Linked DNA regions of Homo sapiens: region 2 is linked to region 1. The links are contacts of gene promoters, found by promoter capture Hi-C in human tissues and cell types (Jung and others, 2019). All regions are on one chromosome and are shown on one strand. The core of a region is centred on a gene start or on the middle of the fragment in contact, and the rest is flanking DNA. Distances in the headings are between cores, read along the strand shown.

What was found. Contacts are between HindIII fragments. The study calls those that stand out against the background at their distance.
Region 2: a contact is called between a fragment that was not itself captured here and the fragment with the promoter of CACNG6 in region 1, in 1 of the 25 tissues and cell types used here (liver).

What each region holds. Positions count from the first base shown.
Region 1 is chr19:53,989,542-53,992,971 of GRCh38, forward strand. CACNG6 (calcium voltage-gated channel auxiliary subunit gamma 6) reads left to right here and starts at 2,096. Exons shown (of 4, transcript NM_145814.2): 1 at 2,096-3,430. The coding sequence starts at 3,337. CACNG8 (calcium voltage-gated channel auxiliary subunit gamma 8) reads left to right here. Exons shown (of 4, transcript NM_031895.6): 4 at 1-674. The HindIII fragment of the contact is 43,229 bases long and covers 1-3,430 here.
Region 2 is chr19:53,858,835-53,861,973 of GRCh38, forward strand. All of the region lies in intron 1 of MYADM-AS1 (MYADM antisense RNA 1), which reads right to left. Among named protein-coding and RNA genes, the nearest start is that of MYADM, 7.5 kb to the right of the region's middle. The HindIII fragment of the contact is 7,269 bases long and covers 1-3,139 here.

The DNA of each region.
Region 1 (3,430 bases), core at 846-3,345:
AGGCCCTGCAATCTCAGGCCACTTCTGTCCCATCTCTGCCTTCAGAGGGGGGGACAGGTAGTCCAGACAATTAGAATACAGAGGGGGCTGTGTTCTGACGGGGCCACGCGGGCATTGAGGAAACGCAGCAGGCCCCTCCCCTAGCTGGGGCGGGGATGTCTGTGTGCCATCATCTCACTCCATCTGGTCATTCCTTTGCCCATTCATCCATCCATTCATTCAAGTCACCCCATGCACATTTTCCAAGACTGCCTGTGACCTGGCCCTGTGCCGGGTAGAGCTGAGGATGCCAAGGTGAATTCCTCCTGTGCCTGGCCCCGGCCCCAGTCTGCTGGAAGAACCAGACACAGACAATCACACTGCGGGGAAACACGTGCTCCATCGGAAAAGTCCAGAGCAGGGGGTGGGCAGAGAGGCCCAGCGTGCACCAGAGCCTCGCTCAGGTCAGCGCCAGGCCTGCCTGGAGCAGCCAACTGTGGGAGAAGAAGGAGTTGGTGAAAGGTGGGTCCCACCTGGGCCGTCCACAGAAGGGCTGAGGGGTAGGGGGTGAGGGGTTGAAGATCAGGCCCTGCCGCCATGCCACACGGCTGTCCTCTGTCCCTGCTCCTGGGGGAGCTGAAACTGCATGGAAGGTCCCCCAGGGGTGCCCCGTCTAATAAACTCGATGAAGAGGAGTGCTGCTTTCATTCTGTGCCCCTGACAGCCGGCCCTGCCCTGAGGCCTGCGCTTTCTCCAACATGGAAATCAGGCCTTCCATCCTTCAAGACCCAGGGTTCTGGCCCCAGTCTCCTCCCTGAGGCCCAGGACTCTGGGTCTGCCAACGCCTTGACCAGGAGTCCAGGCTCCCCGGCCCTCCTCCTCCCTCAGACCCAGGAGTCCAGGCCCAGCCCCTCCTCCCTCAGATCCAGGAGTCCAGGCCCCCTGCCCCCTCCTCCCTCAGACCCAGGAGTCCAGGCCCAGGCCTTCCTCCCTCAGACCCAGGAGCCCAGGCCCCCAGCCCCTCCTCCCTCAGACCCAGGAGCCCAGGCCCCCAGCCCCTCCTCCCTCAGACCCAGGAGCCCAGGCCCCCAGCCCCTCCTCCCTCAGACCCAGGAGTCCAGGCCCCCAGCCCCTCCTCCTTCAGACCCAGGAGTTCAGGCCCCAGTCCCTCCTCCCTCAGACCCAGAAGTCCAGGCCCCCAGCCCCTCCTCCCTCAGACTCAGGAGCCCAGGCCCCCAGCCCCTCCTCCCTCAGACCCAGGAGTCCAGGCCCCAGCCCCTCCTCCCTCAGACCCAGGAGTCCAGACCCCCAGCCCCTCCTCCCTCAGACCCAGGAGCCCAGGCCCCCAACCCCTCCTCCCTCAGACCCAGGAGTCCAGGCCCCCAGCCCCTCCTCCCTCAGACCCAGGAGTCCAGGCCCCCAGCCCCTCCTCCTTCAGACCCAGGAGTTCAGGCCCCAGTCCCTCCTCCCTCAGACCCAGAAGTCCAGGCCCCAGTCCCTCCTCCCTCAGACTCAGGAGCCCAGGCCCAGCCCCTCCTCCCTCAGACCCAGGAGTCCAGACCCCAGCCCCTCCTCCCTCAGACCCAGGAGTTCAGGCCCCCAGCCCCTCCTCCCTCAGACTCAGGAGCCCAGGACCTAGGAGACCAGGTTCCTCTCCTCTCAGATCCAAGATTCTGGGTACCCAGGCCTTCTTCCTCTACCACTCAGAAGTGGGGTACCGAGGCTTCTTCTCCCTTAGGGACCCAAGACTCCTGGCCTCAGGCCCTCCTCCCTGAGACCCGGGGCCCTGCCTCCCGCCCCTCCTCCCTGGTAACCCCAGTCAGACTTGCTGCCCCGCCCGTCTCCTGCTGCCCGGGAGACTGCGGAGCTGGGACTCTCGGCGCCGCTCTTGCCCCTTAGTGAAATGAAAGTCCCATCAGGCTCGGCCCCTTCCTCCCCGGGCGGCCTCCCTCCCCCCTTCCTCGTCCCCTTAAAACACCCGGGATCCCTATGGCAACAGGCGCCGGGCGACAGGTGCGGGTGTTATTTACGGGTCAAGCCCGAAATAGCCCCGAGGGTGGAGGGTGGAGGGTGGGGGGTGGGCGGGTGGGGACGAGGCCGGGCGCGGGCGGAGGCCAGGCCGGTGGCGGTGGCGGGCACAGCCGGACGCTTCGGAGGCAGCGCGGAGCTGGGGTCGGCGCGGGGCCGAGGCAGGAGAGCGAGAGGGGCCCCTGCTCGGGAGTCGGGGGTGGGAGCCCCGAGGGGGGGCCCTGGCCTGGGGCTGAGCCTGGCGCGAACCCGACCGGGAAGGCCCTGGGAGCCCGGGGGAGGGAGACGGACTGATCCCGAAGGGGCGCAGCGTCTCTTGCGGGTCGCGGTTGGCCTTTGAACCCTGGGGGGACTCAGTCCTGGTTTTCCGAGCCGCAGTGCGGACCACAGCCCCATAGTGTGAGCCCCAGGAGGGCCCCCGGTCCCATCTGCCCCAGCCCTCGGGGAGGCCCCGTAGCCTCCCGCCTCTGGACTCCACTCTGTCTTCCGGCCACCGGCCCCTTTTCCAGGCTCAGTAGAGACCTCGGATCTTTTCTGAATGGCAGGGGAGACCCCTATCCCCTTTTCCTGAATTCCAGCGAGGCCCAGTCCTCTTCTGAGCCCCAGCCAGGGCTCTGTTCTTCTCCTTCTGTGGATGCCGGGGTCCTACTGCCTCTCTTGAGACCCGGATTGAATTCCGACCTCCCCTTGGGAGCTTCCCGGGACCCCAGGTCTTCCTTTTCCGAATCCCAGAGGGTCCCCAAGTCCTCTGTTCTCAAACTCTGAGCCCAAGGGAACCCCGGCCACATCTCCTCCAAACACACACAGGACCTCAGGTCCCTTCCTGGGTACCCCAAACTCTTAGCCCTAGTGGGGTGCTCAGATCTCTCAGGAAAACCAGTTTCCCTTTTGTTAACCCCCCAGCGGGGACCCCAAAGCAGCCCCTTGGAGCTGCAGGGAGCTTCAGCGGGCACCAGTTCTCATTCCTCTGGAGCTCTTGGGGGGACTCCCTCCTGGGAAGCCGAATTCTATCTCTAAACCTCAGGGTGGGGGCCTTGTTTTTCCTCTGGGCCCCGTCTTCTTTGCCAAGTTCTTGAGGGCAACCTAGACCCTCCTCTGAACCCCAGAGGCTTCCCCAGCCCTGGGGATCATTTTTCTCTTCTGAACCCCAGAAGCAATCTCGACTTTCGCATTTGAGATTCCAGACAGGACTCGGCTCTCCCTCTTTCATACCCAGGGGAAACTGAGTCCCTCACCCCCTTCAAGACCCCAGGCCGCTCCTCGCTCCCGCCCCTCGAGGCCCTTCGCCGGCTCTGCCTCCTCCCCCTTCCCGACCCCACCGGCCATAAGATGATGTGGTCCAACTTCTTCCTGCAAGAGGAGAACCGGCGGCGGGGGGCCGCGGGCCGGCGGCGGGCGCACGGGCAGGGCAGGTCGGGGCTGA
Region 2 (3,139 bases), core at 508-3,007, 130 kb before region 1:
CATGGTGGTGCATGCCTGTAATCCCAGCTACTCGGGAGGCTGAGGAAGGAGAATTTCTTGAACCCAGGAGGCAGAGGTTGCAGTAAACTGAGATCGTGCCACTACACTCCAGCCTGGGTGACAGAGCAAGACTCTGTCTAAAAAAAAAGCAAAGGATACATGGAAAGGCTACGGAATCCGGCTCAGGAATGTGGCAGGAGGCCAAGAATAGACAGCAGCAAGAATGTTCCTAATATCAGATGCAGCCACACCCCGGTGGGGAAGCCACCATTACCACCACCACCACTGGGCACTGCCCTCCTGACATTGACTAGTGACACCTTTGCCCTTGCCACTGTACTTTAATTTTCTTTCTTTCTTTTTTTGAGACAGAGTCTCACCCTGTTGCCCAGGCTTCAGTGCAGTGGTGCGATCATAGCTCACTGCAGAATTGAACCCACGGGCTAAAGAGATCCTCCTATCTCAGCCTCCCAAGTAGCTGGGACCACAGTTGTACATGACCACACCCAGCTAGTCAGTGTTTTTCTAAAAAAAAAATTCATAGAGCCAGCCGAGGTGGCTCATGCCTGTAATCCCAGCACTTTGGGAGGCCGAGGCAGGCGGATCACGAGGTCAGGAGTTTGAGACCAGCCTGGCCAAACCCTGTCTCTACTAAAAATACAAAAAAATTAGCTGGGCATGGTGGCCAGAGCCTGTAATCCCAGCTACTCAGGAGGCTGAGACAGGAGAATCGTTTGAACTCGGGAGGCATAGGTTGCAGTGAGCTGAGATCACACCACTATACTCCAGCCTGGGTGACAGAGCAAGACTCCATCTCAAAAAAAAAAAAAAAACCCAAAACCAAAAAACATAGATACTAAATTTTGTCAAATATTCTTTTAGCATATATAAGATGATCATACTGATTTTTTTTTTACTTTGTTAATATGATAAAGCTCATTAATGGTTTTTGAATATTAGCCATTCTGGGCTGGGCACAGTGGCTTACGGGTGGTTTTGGGAAACTGAGGCAGGAAAATTGCTTGAGCCCGGGAGTTCAAGACCAGCCTGGGCAACATGGCAAAACCCTGTCTTTACTAAAAACACCATGCTGGGCATAGTGGTACACACCTGTATTCCCAGCTACTCAGAAGGCTGTGGAGGGAGGATCGCTTGAGGCCGGGAGGTTGAGGCTGTAGTGAGCTGTGATCACGCCACTGTGATCACGCCTCTGCACTCCAGCCTAGGAGACCCAGAGAGACTCTGTCTCAAAAAAAAAAAGAAAAAGAAAAAGAAAAAGAAAAAAAAGCCATTTTGGCATTTCTGGAATAAACCCCAGTTGGTCACAATGTATTTTTTTTTACTCTACCGCTGGAGTCTGAATGCTAATACAGGCTGACACACTCCAAAACCCAGAGCTCTATTCTGAGCCTAAGGAGTCCACACGAAATGAAGGCTGTGCTACCGTGCCATAGCCACAAAGAGCACTTGAAACCTGGCTAGTGAGACTGAGAAACCGAATTTTAAATTTTATTATTATTATTATTATTTATTGAGACGGAGTTTCGCTCTGGTTGCCCAGGCTGGAGTGCAATGGCGCGATCTTGGCTCACTGCAACCTCTGCCTCCCGGGTTCAAGCGATTCTCCTGCCTTAGCCTCCTGAGTAGCTGGGATTACAGGCAGGCATCACCACGCCCAGGTAATTTTGTATTTTTAGTAGAGCCGCGGTTTCTCCATGTTGGTCAGGCTGGTCTCACACTCCCGACCTCAGGTGATCCGCCCGCCTCGGCCTCTCAATGTGCTGGGATTACAGGCGTAAGGCCCCCGCCCGGTCTATTATTATTATTATTATTATTATTATTATTATTATTGAGACAGAGTCTCGCTCTGTCGCCTAGGCTGGAGTGCAGTGGCGTGATCTCTGCTCACTGCAATCTCTGCCTCCTGGGTTCAAGTGATTCTCCCACCTCAGCCTCCTGAGTAGCTGGGACTACAGGCATGAGCCTCCACATCTGGTTAATTTTTGTATTTTTATTAGAGATGGGGTTTCATTATGTTGGCCAGGCTGGTCTCGAACTCCTGACCTCAAGAGATCTGCCCGCCTCAGCCTCCCAAAGTGCTGGGATTACAGGCATGAGCCACCGCGCCCAGCCAATAGAGTTTATTTTTAAAAGCATTTTTAGGTTCACATAAAAATTGAGCAGAAGGTACAGAGATTTCCCTGTCCCCACACATGCACAGCCTCCCCAACTACCACCATCCCCAGCTAGTGGTAGATTTGTTACAGTGGATGAACCTCCGCTGATTTGACATGTCATCTTCACCCAGGGTCCACGGTTTACACTGGGGTTCACTTGGTGTCATAGAATCTATAGGTTCATACAAATGTATAATAATCAGTATTTACCACTATGGTGTCATAATACAGTTTCATTCTCCTAAAATATCTCTTACTCTGCCTATTCATTGCAACCCCAACTCTCCTGACTTTTTTCTTATTTTTTTTTTAAACTTTTTAAAAATGTTGCTACTACTTCTTTGGGAGACTGAGGCAGGTGGATCGCTTGAACTCAGGAGTTCAAGACCCGTCTTCGTAACTGAGTGAGAACCAGTCTCTACCAAAAAAAAAAAAAAAAAAAAAATTAGCCTGGCATGGTGGCGAGCACCTGTAGTCCCAGCTACTCTGGAGGCTGAGGCAGGAGGATTGCTTGAGCTCTGGACGTCGAGGCTGCAGTGAGCCGAGATCACGCCACTGCACTACTCCAGCCTGGGCGGCAGAGCGAGACCCTGTTTCAAAAAAAAAAAAAAAAAGGAAGCAGAAATGCATTCACAGGCTTTGCTGCTAGGTGGTTATTATTTTTTGTTTGTTTGTTTGTTTTTTGAGAGAGAGTCTCAGTCACTCTGTCGCCCAGGCTGGAATGCAGTGGTGTGATCTCAGGTCACTGCAAACTCTGACTCCCAGGTTCAAGTAATTCTTCTGCCTCATCCTCCTGAGTAGCTGGGATTACAGGCATGCACCACCATACCTGGCTAATTTTTGTATTTTTAGTAGAGACAGGGTTTCACCATGTTGGCCAGGCTGGTCTTGAACTCCTGGCCTCAAGTGATCCGCCTGCCTCAACCTCGCAAAGTACTGGGATAACAGGCGTGAACCACTGC